Regions from separate parts of the Homo sapiens genome. Here all the other regions are linked to region 4. Evidence: promoter capture Hi-C in 16 types of primary human blood cells and fetal thymus (Javierre and others, 2016). All regions are on one chromosome and are shown on one strand. Each heading gives the region's core, a stretch centred on a gene start or on the middle of the fragment in contact. The rest is flanking DNA. Distances are from core to core; before and after follow the strand shown.

What was found. The method cuts DNA at HindIII sites, captures the fragments that hold promoters and counts their contacts. A CHiCAGO score of 5 or more calls a contact.
Region 1: a fragment that was not itself captured here is called in contact with the fragment with the promoter of KRT81 in region 4 in 1 of 17 cell types (M0 macrophages); the score reaches 5.4 in M0 macrophages.
Region 2: a contact is called between a fragment that was not itself captured here and the fragment with the promoter of KRT81 in region 4, in 2 of 17 cell types (M2 macrophages and M1 macrophages). The highest score is 6.0, in M2 macrophages.
Region 3: a contact is called between a fragment that was not itself captured here and the fragment with the promoter of KRT81 in region 4, in 4 of 17 cell types (M2 macrophages, M1 macrophages, total CD4 T cells and 1 more). The highest score is 7.2, in M2 macrophages.

The regions. Positions count from the first base shown.
Region 1 is chr12:52,976,657-52,979,757 of GRCh38, forward strand. No RefSeq gene overlaps it. Among named protein-coding and RNA genes, the nearest start is that of EIF4B, 28 kb to the right of the region's middle. The HindIII fragment of the contact is 5,548 bases long and covers 1-3,101 here.
Region 2 is chr12:52,918,890-52,922,358 of GRCh38, forward strand. It overlaps a transcript of KRT8 not described here. Among named protein-coding and RNA genes, the nearest start is that of KRT8, 16 kb to the left of the region's middle. RefSeq lists an enhancer at 1-151. The HindIII fragment of the contact is 2,200 bases long and covers 208-2,407 here.
Region 3 is chr12:52,889,726-52,893,127 of GRCh38, forward strand. No RefSeq gene overlaps it. Among named protein-coding and RNA genes, the nearest start is that of MIR9898, 7.6 kb to the right of the region's middle. The HindIII fragment of the contact is 2,470 bases long and covers 804-3,273 here.
Region 4 is chr12:52,289,582-52,293,081 of GRCh38, forward strand. KRT81 (keratin 81) reads right to left here and starts at 1,953. Exons shown (of 9, transcript NM_002281.4): 1 at 1,516-1,953; 2 at 497-705. The coding sequence starts at 1,884. All of the region lies in intron 2 of KRT86 (keratin 86), which reads left to right. The HindIII fragment of the contact is 6,626 bases long and covers 1-2,545 here.

The DNA.
Region 1 (3,101 bases), core at 553-3,052, 690 kb after region 4:
GAACCTGGGAGATGTCCATATACTGATGAAATGAGAGGTTCCCCTCTGGGTTCCAATGCACAAGCCCTGTACCAGATGAGGGAGCCATAAGGGATGCAGACAGAGACTCAAAGACAGAGACAAGGGCTGAGGGAGGGGGGATGGAAAGAACTGGGGAGCCAAAGACTGCAGCGGGGAAAGAATGCAGTGTCCATCCTAAAAGAAGGAAAATGGAAGTTTCCCAGGGAGGAGGGTGCCTGATCTTATCTGCTGTTTACATTCCAGAGAGCCCCTGCTTCTGCTTCTCATCTTAATTAGAGAATACTTGAGAAGCCCTGCCGCCGTGCAGAGAGAAAGGAATGCAGGCCCCCACTAAACCCCAGCCTGCCCCCCTCACCCCTGACCTCCTGCTGGCTATGTGGTGGGACTGATGGGAGTCTGGGTTCTGGATCCATTTTCTGTTTTCTGTTTTTTTGTCTACAGTGGGCTGATCCATTAAGCTGGATTCCTTGAGAGAGTATGTGAGAGGGTCTGGGAACTGTCAGGGCTCCACTCCTGCAGGAAACAAACAAACAAACAAACAAACAAAATTAAAAAGTATTAGAAAGAGCCACTGAGAGGAACAGCTGAGATTCTCTCAGTCAGTCTGCCATTCACCCCCTCAAACATCGCCCTCACTCCACCACCATAATGTCCAGGCAGGGTGCTGACACTTCACCGTTCACCTCCCACCCTGCCCCGGGCTGTCCTCCAAATGTGTGTCAGACACAGTGCTGGGGGACTTATACTTCTGTCATAGTCTCTGTCTTCAGTAGCATATGGTAAGAGCCAGGATCCGCTATTAAACATGCTGTGAGTGGGTAGAGACAAAGTCTTGTCTTGTAGGGTGAGCAGGCAGTGAGGTCAGAAAGGGCATCACAGGTAGAGGAAAAAGCATGGGCAGAGGTCTGGAACCCAGTCCCTCTTCATACCACCCGCTGACCCTTTCCCCTCCCCCCCACATGAGATTTCTCCCCCTCTCTTCTCTCTTCTCTCCCTCAACAATTCCAGGGTTGCCCACCTGAAAACAAGCTCCCTGGACCACCTTCCCTTGCAGCTCTCTGTTCCTTCTCTCTTTTTTTTTTTTTTTTTTTTTTGAGACGGAATCTCACTCTGTCACCCAGGCAGGAGTGCAATGGTGTGATCTCAGCTCACTGCAGCCTCTGCCTCCCAGGTTCAAGTGATTCTCCTACCTCAGCCTCACGAGTAGCTGGGATTACAGGTGCCCACCACCACACCCAGCTAATTTTTGTATTTTTACTAGAGATGGTGTTTCACCACATTGGCCAGGCTGGTCTCGAACTCCTGACCTCAGGTGATCCACCCGCCTCAGCCTTCCAAAGTGCTGGGATTACAGGCGTGAGCCACTGCGCCTGGCCAGCTCTCTGTTCCTTCTCATAGCTAAGCATCTTACATCATTCTCTCTCGTTTTGTTGTTGTTTTGTTGTTGTTGTTGTTGTTGTTGTTGTTGTTGTTTGAGACAGAGTTTTGCTCTTGTTGCCCAGGCTGGAGTGCAGTGGCGCGATCTCGGCTCACTGCAACCTCCACTTCCAGGGTTCAAGTGATTCTCCTGCCTCTGCCTCCCAAGTAGCTGGGATTATAGGCATGCGCCACCACACCTGGCTAATTTTGTATTTTTAGTGGAGATGGGGTTTTATCATGTTGGTCAGGCTGGTCTCAAACTCCTGACCTCAGGTGATCCACTTGCCTCGGCTTCCCAAAGTGCTGGGGTTACAGGCTTGAGTCACTGCATCTGGCCTTACATTATTCTCAAAAGAGGTCTACACACAGGCTTTCCCCTTCCTCACCCAGTTCACTCTTCAGCCCCTCCAGGCTGGCTCAGCTCGTATGGCTCCTCAGAAGCTGCACTAGCCAAGGTTCCCAGAGACCTCCATGTTGTTGAAATCGATGGACACTTGACATTCCTTTTGTTCCTTGACCACTTAGCTTCCAGCAGCTGCATGCTCCCTCCTTCTTTTTTTTTTTTTTTTTTTTTTGAGATGGAGTTTCACTCTTGTTGCCCAAGCTGGAGTCCAGTGGCATGATCTTGGCTCACTGCAACCTCCATCTCCCAGGTTCAAGCGATTCTCTTGCCTCAGCCTTCCAAGTAGCTGGGATTATAGGCGTGTGCCACCACACCTGGCTAATTTTTTGTATTTTTAGTAGAGACAGGGTTTCACCATGTTAGCCAGGCTGGTCTCGAACTCCTGACCTCAGGTGATCCACCTGCCTCGGCCTCCCAAAGTGCTGGGATTACAGGCATGAGCCACAGCACCCAGCCTCTCCCTCCTTCTTGAAACACTCTCCTTCCTAGTCTCCCAGACACCTCGTGCCAGGCTTTTCTCTAGTTATAGTTTCTCGGTCCCTTTTCCCCACTCACCCTCCTTGACATGGTCTGTAACTTGATGTTTCTGATCTATAAATTGACCTGATATAAAGTTGATGTTCCTCAGGGCTGGGTCCTGGCCCCTATTCTCTTATTAATAGGGACTATTTTCTTGAGTCATCTCATACCTTGCCCTGGTTTTAATTGCATCTTCTATAGACCAAAGACTTCCAGATTGTGATGTCCAACCAGACCTTTCTTGTGAGCTCCAGAGCAGCCTATGGAATATTCTACTTAATGCCTCTTTTTAGATGACTCTTAGGCATCTCAAATTTAACCTGTTCAAAACTGGATTATTGATCTTAGCTCCCACCAGCTTCATAATTCTTGTTCATCTTAGTAAATGACACACCATCCATCTAATTGCTTGTGCCAGAAACCTGGGAATCATATTTGACACCTCCTTCTCTCTTGGTCTACCCTATGGATCTAATAAATTAATAACCCTACTTCCACAGTAAGTCCAAATCTATTCCTTTCTCCCCATCCACACCCCACATCCAGGCTGTAGGCATCTGTCCTCTGTACTATCACTGCAACATCTTCCTAACAGAAAGTCTTCTCATGGCCACCAGTAACCACTCAGCCTTCCTCCACACACCAGCCAACATGGTCTTCTTTAAAAATAAATCTCAGCCGGGCTTGGTGGCTCACACCTGTAATCCCAGCCAAAGTGGGCGGATCACCTGAGGTCAGG
Region 2 (3,469 bases), core at 58-2,557, 630 kb after region 4:
GCCTTGTGTTTCCCTGCATGAAATAACCTCCTTGCAGAACAGAACAGTGTCTGCTGCCTCTTCCCAGGGTAGGTGGTCAAGTGGAAGAAAGTGCTAGCTCAGCAGGGTGGAGGGTAACTAGGAGGTGGCAATTGGGTCTATAAGGAGGAGCTTATAGGATAGTAATAAAGAAATAGCATGTAAAAATCCGCCATTATGCAAAACAGAAGCTTGCAAATCCAATTCCTAGGGAGCTAGCCATGCAAACAGAGCCCTGCCTACTGACGCCCACTTGCTTTCCCCAACTCTCAACCCAGGGCTCCTTTCCCTGCCAATGATGGTGGCAGTGGTAGTGATTAGGATTGGGAACCATGGTGATCATGATGGGTTTCTTTTTTGTTTTTTTGTTTTTGAGACAGAGTCTCACTCTGTCACCCAGTCTGGAGTGCATGTAGTGGCACTACCTCAGCTCACTGCAACCTTCGCTTCCCGGGTTCAAGCAATTCTCCTGTCTCAGCCTCCCAAGTAGCTGGGACTACAGGCATGTACCACCACTCTCTGCTAAGTTTTTGTATTTTTAGTAGAGACAGGGTTTCACCATGTTGACCAGGCTGGTCCCAAACTGCTGGCCCCAAGTGATCTGCTCGCCTCAGCCTCCCAAAGTGCTGGGATTACAGGTGTGAGCCACCATGCCCAGCCATGGCTTTCATTTTCAGGGTTCCTACCAAGTGTCAAAGTGTCAGATCTCTTACATATATTATATATTATTTTATTTTATTTTAGTCTATTTTATTTTGAGATGGAGTCTTGCTCTGTTGCCCAGGCTGGAGTGCAGTGGCACGATCTTGACTCACTGCAACCTCCACCTCCTGGGTTCTCAAGCTATTCTCCTGCCTCAGCCTCCCAAGTAGCTGGGACTAAAGACCTGCACCACCATGCCCGGATAATTTTAGTATTTTTAGTGAGACAGGGTTTCACCATGTAGGCCAGGCTAGTCTTGAACTCCTGACCTCAGGGGATCTGCCTGCCTTGGCCTCCCAAGGTGCTGGGATTACAGGCGTGAGCCACCGCACCTATTATTTATAATCCTAAACTAATCCATGAGGAAGGTAACATTGTTCTCATTTTACAGACAAGGAAACTAAAGCCCAAGGTCCTTTGGTTAGTGTGACAGAGACAGGAATTGAACCCAAGTCTGGAGTAATTTTAGAGCTTGAACATTCTCTTTTCAATTATGCTGTTTTATAGTCAGGATCCAATTATGTCCATTAAGAGATGTAATAATGTCAATAACTCAAAAGGGAGGATTCAAAACATGTTTATTATTTTATTTAGCAATCCAAAAGAGCTATATTACATTTATTTATTGAGCATCTGTACTACCTCTCCTACAGTAGGGATTCTGGCAGACTTGGGGGACCTCTCCCCATCAAAATGGACAGCCCCAGCCCAGGCACGGTGGCTCACGCCTGTAATCCCAGCACTTTGGGAGGCCAAGGCAGGCAGATCACCTGAGGTCAAGAGTTTGAGACCAGCCTGACCAACATGGAGAAACCCCATCTCTACTAAAAATACAAAATTAGCCAGGCATGGTGGCACATGCCTGTAATCCCAGCTACTTAAGAGGCTGAGGCAGGCGAATTGATTGAACCCAGGGGGCAGAGGTTGGGGTGAGCTGAGATTGTGCCATTGCACTCCAGCCTGGGCAACAAGAGCGAAACTCCATCTGAAAAAAAATTAAAAATGGACAGCCCCATGAGGGCAGAGACCTTGACTATGTTGTTGACCGTCACATCCACAGCATTAGAAAGACATCTAACAGGCACTCCACCAGTATATGATGAACGAATTCACAAATGGCTGAACCAGCCTGCCAGGTAAGCCTGTGCCCAGCCAGGCACAGTGGCTCACACCTGTAATCCCAGTACTTTGGAAGGCCAAGGGAAGATCACTTGAGGCCAGGAGTTCAAGACCAGCCTGGACAACCAGCGACATAGCAAGACCCTGCATGTGTGCATATATGTCTGTAAGACAGAAAATGAGACAGAGAGACTCTAGAGAGCACGCAGCTCAGCTAAAGAAAAGACCTGCTACCCACCACTCTGTAACCAACCTGCCCCCACCCCATTCCCTGGTCTCTAAGGACTAAGATAACCCCAACTCAGATACAATGACCCATTCATAGGCCTTTAGGAAAATCTGTTGACCTGGATGGTGGGAATGGGCTAAGCCCAGGCCAGCCCAGGCCAGCTTAGCCTCAGGGACCTGTTAGTCAAGTTCCCATGGCAACACAACTAATTGTGTGTTTATGCATTCCCTACAGAACTCCAGGCAGAGGCCATCTATTCCCCAAGGCCACATTCTACCTTCTCTCTCCTTCCTTGCCTCCCCAAGTTTCCTGGGTGACCATCCAGGGAACATTAAGAGAAGCTTAAGTAGCAACAGCAGCCTCCAGAACATGGAAGGCAAAGGAGGGAAAGCCTCTCTGAGGGAGAGGACCAGTACTTCTTGCTCACAATTGTCCAGCTGCAAAAGTCAAACTCCCTAGTCCTCCTCCTGGACCCACAGTTCTATGGCTTCGATGGCTCCCACATGTCACCACACTAAACCTCCACCCCCAGGCCCCCATGGCCTGACCCTATCCTACTTGACTGCCAGCTCCTGCACAAACTCCCTCTTCACTTATGCAGTGCACAGGCCCAGGGCCCCTCCTTCCTCTCTCTTTGTGTCCCTCTAGCCTGGCTCTACCCCCAAGGACTTCCTTCAGGAAGCCCTCCCAGATGGACTATTCCTCCCAGGCTTCTCCCTCCAGCCCTCCAGCCTGGAGCCTCTGATTGTGCATCCCCAGCTGTGGCCGGATCTCCCAGAGCTGGGCATGGGTTCAGCTATTCCCCCATGGCCTAGCAGTTTCCTTAAGGTGGTAAAGCTTTTAATTCTTACAGAAACTATAAAATAAGCATTATCTGCATTCTAGAGTGGAGAACACTGAGCCTCAGGATTAAAAGCAATGTGCACTGCTTGGCACAGTGGCTCACACCTGTAATCCCAGCACTTTGGAAGGCCAAAGTGGGAGGATGGCTTGAGGCTAGGAATTCAAGACCAGCCTGGACAACACAGCAAGACCCTGTCTATACCCCTCTCCCCCACAAAAAAATTGTTCTAATTATCCAGGCAGAGTGGTGCACACCTGTATTTCCAGCTACTTGGGAGGCTAAGCAAGAGGATAACTGGAGCCCAAGAGTTTGAGGCTGTAGTGTACCATAATTGCACCTGTGAGTAACAATGGCACTGGGTGACAGAGTGAGACCCTGTCTCTAAAAAAAAAAAAAAAAAAAAAAAAAAAAAAAAAAAAATGTAGCAAATGGGAGAGCCAGAACTGGACCCCGTCTGCCTCCAAAGCCATGTCTCTCCTCCCCACCTTATACCTCCCTCTCTCCCTGAAGACAGTACCATATGGCAGGCACTCCCTGTACCATAGGTTTTTATAACT
Region 3 (3,402 bases), core at 789-3,288, 600 kb after region 4:
CTGAGGCCAAACAATCACTTGAACCCAGGAGGCAGAGGTTGCAGTGAGCCGAGATCATGCCACTGCACTCCAGCCTGGCAACAAAGTGAGACTGTCTCAAAAAAAAAAAAAAAAAACTTATCAAACTCCCAAATTGTTTGGGCCAGGCTCGGTAGCTCACTCCTGTACTCTCAACACTTTGGGAGGCCAAGGTGAGTTGATCATGAGGTCAGGAGTTCAAGACCAGCCTGGCCAAAATAATGAAACCCCGTCTCTACTAAAAATACAAAACTTAGCCAGGCATGGTGGCATGTGCCTGTAGCCCCAGCTGCTCAGGAGGCTGAGGCAGGAGAATCGCTTGAACCCAGGAGGTGAAGGTTGCAGTGAGCCGAGATCATGCCATTGCACTCCAGCTTGGGCGACAGAGAGAGACTTTGTCTCAAAAAAATAAAAAAGATGGCTATCAATATGGAAATGGTTCATTCCTTTTTATTTGATAATTTTTATTGACCACCTACTATGTGCCTGGCACTCTGCTAAACACTGAAGAATCAGTGGAGAACCAAGCAGATATGGTGTGTCCCTGCCCTCATGGAGCTTACAGTGTATGGGGAAAGGCTGATATTAATAAAATACCTCTGCAGATGAATGAGTGACTGTAATTTACAAGGAGAAAATACAGGGTGCCTTGGGAACTTATCATAGAAACACGCCACTCAGTTTGTGGTGTCTAGAAGACTTTCTTGTCTTGTGGTGTCATAAAACTTTTTGTCTTGTCTTGTGGTGTCAGAAGACTTTCTTGGGGAAGCTGCGTTTGAGCGGAAAGCTTGGGAGTGACTAGGAAAGGCAGGGTGTTCCAAGCAGGGGGCCAGCCATGCAATGCCCTGAGCAGAAGCAAATTCCATGTAGGCTATGCCCTGAAAAGCCTGCACCACTGCATCAGAGAGCAAGGGACAGAGTGGCCAGGATGAGGCCTCAGAGGAGGAAGAGTAGGCACAGCCTGTGGGCCAAGTCAAGATTTAGGGCTTTATTCTGGGTGTCAAAAGTAAAGGGTTTTCCCATCATTCTGAGCAAACTATTGCAAGGGCAGAAAACCAAACACCGCATGTTCTCACTCATAGGTGGGAATTGAACAATGAGAACACTTAGACACAGGGTGGGGAACATCACACACCAGGGCCTGTCGTGGGGTGGGGGTAGAGGGGAGGGATAGCATTAGGAGATATACCTAATGTAAATGAAGAGTTAACGAGTTAACGGGTGCAGCACACCAACATGGCACATGTATACATATGTAACAAACCTGCATGTTGTGCACATGTACCCTAGAACTTAAAGTATAATAAAAAATAAAGAAAGAAAAGAAAAAAATAAAATAAAAATAAAGGGTTTTCCATATAAGGAAGTAACTGAATCTGATTCATATTTTTGAGAATGCACTCTGATTTTGGGGGCAGTGAACTATTCTGTATGGTACTGTAATGGTGGCTACATGGCCCCCACAGAATGTCCACACTAAGAGTTAACTCTAATGTGAACTATGGACTGTGGGTAATAATGATGTGTCAATGTAGGTTCATCAATCGTAACAAATGTATCCCTCTGAGGTGGGATGTTGATGATGTTGTAACAAATGTAGCCCTCTGGTGTGGGATGCAGGTGTAGGGGCAGAATGTGTATGAGAACCCTCTACCTCCTGCTCGATTTTGCTATGAACCTAAAATTGCTCTTTTTTTCTTTTTTTTTTTTTTTTTTTTTTTTGAGACGGAGTCTTTCTCTGTCGCCCAGGCTGGAGTGCAGTGGCATGATCTCAGTTCACTGCAAGCTCTGCCTCCTGGGTTCACACCATTCTCCTGCCTCAGCCTCTCGAGTAGCTGGGACTACAGGCGCCTGCCACCACACCCAGATAATTTTTTTGTATTTTTTAGTAGAGACGGGGTTTCACCATGTTAGCCAGGATGGTCTCGATCTCCTGACCTCGTGATCCACCCGCCTCAGCCTCCCAAAGTGCTGGGATTACAGGCATGAGCCACAGCGCCTAGCTAAAACTGTTCTTAAAAAATAAGTCTACTAAAAAAAAGTGCACTCTGGCAAGGGGCCCAAGTGAACCTTCTGTGATATAGGAAATGTTCTACATTACAGGTGTGAACATAAGTTAAAACTCATCAGGCGCCGGGCACGGTGGCTCACGCCTGTAATCCCAGCACTTTGGGAGGCTGAGGCGGGTGGATCACCTGAGGTCGGGAGTTGCCTGACCAACACGGAGAAACCCCGTCTCTACTAAAAATACAAAATTAGCCCGGCGTGGTGGCGCATGCCTGTAGTCCCAGCTACTCAGGAGGCTGAGGCGGGAGAATCGCTTGAACCTGGGCAGCGGAGGTTGCAGTGAGCCGAGATCGTGCCATTGCACTTCAGCCTGGGCAACAAGAGTGAAACTCCATCTCAAAAAAAATAAATAAAAATAAAAATAAAAAAACTCATCAGGTTGTACATTCCCCATTAAAGCACATTTTGCATTTTATTGTATGTACAATATGCCTCAGCAAGGAGGAAACAAAGGGACTTGTGATTGGCCAAGGCTGGCCCATTGTGAACCCTGTGTGCCTGGACAGAGGTCCTGTGATCTTAGGAGGAACAGTTCCTGAAAAGAAGTGGGGCGTGGCAGGAGTGGAGGTGGGGGAGCTTTGCATTACTAGAAGAAGGGGGAAGGGGTCCTGGCTAGACAAAGCAACTATGCCCACCACAATGTGTAAAAGGGCAGCGCGGAGAGTGAACTAGGGGGCCACCCACCATGCTGGTATCCTTCCCTGCCTTCCTTTCCTTGCAGTGGTGCTTCCTCTTCCTTTCCCAACAGGTAGAATCTATGATATATAATTACGTAGGGACATGCATGCACACATTTCTATCTATCCTTCATGAAGGGTATGTACTGTCCGCATTGTCACATGCCTTGCTTTAACATTCACTCCTCCATTCCCACCACCTTACACTCCAGTCAGCCTGGCCCTCGGTCCTTAGCCCACCTTCAGATCCCCCTACTACAGGGGAGCTCCTAGACCACCTTAGCCCAGATCAGCGGGCAGGCAGAGCAAAACCTTGGAATTAAAATATCTTCAGAAGAGTCCACAAATGCTTGGAAGACTCATCATTTTAATCCTGGGTGGTTGGGTCGGGAAAGGCAGGGTGGAGGGAAGTGGGGGATAATGGCTGGCTCATCTGGAATAGTCAAACAGGAACCTTCTTCTACACATGTAAATTTTCTAAAAAACTAAAATTCAGTCCCATAGGAAATCAAGCTTTAAAAACAAAAAGTCTACTAAAATTTAAATGTGCACACATTTTGCTTCAGCAATTCCACTTGTAGGAATTATTAAGATATCCTCACCATTGTCATAGCAAATACCAATAGAGGACTGGTTAAGT
Region 4 (3,500 bases), core at 703-3,202:
GCGTGGACTCTCAGGGCCTGTAGCCCTAGCCTCCCCTCACTGGTATCAATCCCAGCTCAGGTATGGGGCCTCCTGGACCCGCAGACCCTCAGGACTTAGAACCTAAGGCAGTGGGACACCCAGAGCCCAAGACCTGTCACTCATGAGAGACCCTGGGCTCACATCTGACAGGTGCTACAAGTATAGGGGCTGAGGGTCAGGAGAGAAGGCCTGGACCCTGCAGAGGCTTCCTCCCCACCCAGCGCAGGGGAGAGCTGCTGGGTGATGTGGTTCAGGGAGAGAAGGCTGAAGTGGGACAGAGACAGGTCATGGGAGTCACAGCCCTCCTCTTACACAGGTGTCTGGGCAAAGATTCCACAAAGGAAAAGACCCCGCCACCCTCGGTCAATCTAGTGGTCATGGCCACTCACCCTACCTGGGAGTTCTTATTGTCTAATCCAGTGTATTTAACCTAAACCCCATTCCTGTGCCCAGCATCCCTCTTGCCCGCACTCACTTCTTCTTGTAGCCCTCCAGCACCTCCTGCACGTGGTTAAGCTCTGAGGCCAGCCTCCCGCTGTCGGCCTCCACGCACTCGGCCTCCCGCCGCAGAGTCTCGATGTAGCCCTCAAACAGGGGCTCCAGGTTGCTCTGGCAACACTCGCGGTTCTGGTAGAACTGCAGCTTTGTCTCCAGCAGTTTGTTCTGCTGCTCCAGGAAGCGCACCTGCCATTCGGTGTGGGAAGGTGGGGCAGATGGTGTCTGGTGCCCCAAAGCCAGCTCTGGGGGCTCGCAGGGGAGGTGCTTTAATGGGAACCCCCAAATCTGGAGCTTATCTGAGATTGAGTAGAGGTGGGCAGTGGGAGACAGACAATTTCTGGATTTCCTGGTCATGATCTGTGTCTAGATTTCCCACTCAGGAGTGGAGCAAGGGCTGGGTGGTGTCAGTGCCTGCTCCCTGGGGAGTTGAGTGACCCCCCCCCCCCAACCCAAGCAGATGAACAGAAGTGGAGGCTCAGTCCCTCACTATGAAACTAGGTGATCAGCAACCCACACAGGCAGAGTACTCAGGTTCAGATCACAGATGAGGTTTCTGGGGATGGTGCCAGGAAGAGGGTGTCACAGGCCATCTGGAAGGGAGCTCAGCTGTCCCAGCCCTTCCCCTGTGTCATCTGGAAGTCAGTGCACCCTACTCTCTCACCCTGGGGCTGCCCAAACCCCTCTGAGTTCAGCAGCAGTGGTCACATGCCCCCCTCCCCCAACTCCCTGATGTCTAGCTTGTGCCCCAGAGCAGCCTGGCCACACTTTTCCTTCACAAGCTCCCTCTATCTGAACTGTCAGCTGAGTCTGCATCTTGAGTGCCTGTGTGTGTGTGTCTGTGCATGTGTCTGTCTGTCTGTGTGTCTGTGTGCCTCGCCCATCAGACTGGGATCTCAGGCAGGCAGAGGTCTTTGTGCCTCTGACTCCATCCTTAGTGCCCGGCCCTGGCTGTGTAGGTGGTGGGGGTTCAGGAAGGGTGTGATCCAGGACACCCACCTTGTCGATGAAGGCCGCGAACCTGCTGTTGAGGGACTTGATCTGCTCCTTCTCCTCCTGCTTCACGCACTGCGCGTTGGGGTCGATCTCCAGGTTGAGGGGCGTGAGGAGGCTCTCGTTGACCGACACGGTGGTGATGCATGGGGGACTGGGCCCGCACACGCCCCCGGAGCGGTAGCCGAAGCTGCGTCCGCAGGAGCCGGCCCGAAAGCCTCCGCACACGCTGTGGCTGCCGAAGCCCCCGGTGAGGCCGCGGTAGCAGGAGATGCCACGGTAGGGGGCGGCGGTGATGCAGCAGCGGCCGGGCCGCGGCCCGCAGGCCGAGATGCAGCTGAAGGCGCGCCCACCAAATCCTGATCCGCAGGTCATGATCCTCCTGGACGTTTGGGTTGCAGAGGACAGGATAGGGGACCTGGAGTCCTGATGGAAACTCCAATGTGCTCCTCAGGGCACCGCAGCCCTATTTATGCGCAGATTCTGAAGGGGCTTGGCTGTGAAGATGATGTTGGGGCAATTTGCGCTTTATGGGCTTGGGTGGTTAGCCGGGTCTAACGCCTCTCCAGAATGTGCTTTAATGGGGGAGTGGCCTGCACCCTCTTCTTTGTAAAAGATGTCAGTCTTGGGCTCTGGGGGAGTCAGCATGTTTCATCTTCAAAGTGTCTTGCCAGCAGGGCATTCCTTCATCTGCAGGCATTGGGGAGGGAAGGGGAAGGCAGAGGAGAGGACGAGAAGGAGGAGTAGAGCCTGGCGAGGGGAAGAGAAGGGAGGCCAGGTGCTGGGAGAAACTGGGAGGAGGAGACCTGTGTGTTAAGTGTGATGTGGGGAGAGGGGTTTCAGGAAAGGCTGAGGCATTAATAAATACCATCTCTCATTTCCATCACAGCTGTGGCTAAAGTGCTCCTGAAACACAAATCTGGATTTCCCCATCTCCAGATTTTTCAGTTGGCAGCTGAAAACCATCTCACTTTTCCTACCATGGGAACAGTCAGCAGATTATTAAATATTTGTCTTTTATCTTTTTTATGATGAAAGCTTTCAAATATTGAGGAAAATTGGAATAATACAACACACATGCATTGATGCTCCACCTGTTTACCCCGATTCAACAGTTAACATTATACCATATTTGCTTTCACAGTTGCCCAATTATTTGAGTGGCAGAAAGCATGGCATGTCACCCTTAAATACATCAGCAGGAATTTCTTAAGAATAAGGAGAGTACTATTTTCTTATTCAGGAAAATTAACAATAATTCCAAAGCACCACTTACTATTCATCTCAGATTCAATTTTCCTAACTGTCCTAAGGATTTTAAAACTACATTTTACATAATTTAATTTGTGGCTCTAGCCCTTGTATTTTCTATAAATTAGAAAGTAAATCTTGAGCTGGGATGTCCAATTTGGTAGACAATAGGCAGATGTGGCTACTTAAATTTAAGTTAGTAAAAACTAAATAAGTTAAAAATCTAGTTATTCAGTTGCACTATCCACATTTTGAGTCCTCAGCAGCTACCTGTAAGTAGTGCCTACCTTATTAGACAGTGCATATAAAGAACACTTCTTTATTATTTATTTTTATTTTATTTATTGTTTATTTTCACATAAAATTCTGTTGGACAGCACTGGGCTAGAGGCTGGATTAGGTTTAAATTAAACATTGTTGGGACAGAATACTTCATAAAATATGCTGTGTAACTCTTATTATATCACCCCAGGAAGCATAAAATGTCAGATTGGTGATGCTAAATTGAATCACAGCTGGGCGCAGTGGCTCATACCTGTAATCCCAGCACTTTGGGAGTCTGAGGGGGGTGGATCACCTGAGGTCAGGAGTTCAAGACCAGCCTCAGTGGAGGAGTTTAAGACCAGAGATGGTGAAACCCCGTCTCTACTACAAATACAAAAATTAGCCCGTTATGGTGGCACGTGCCTGTATTCCCAGCTACATGGGAGGCTAAGGCAGGAGAATTGCTTGAACCCAGG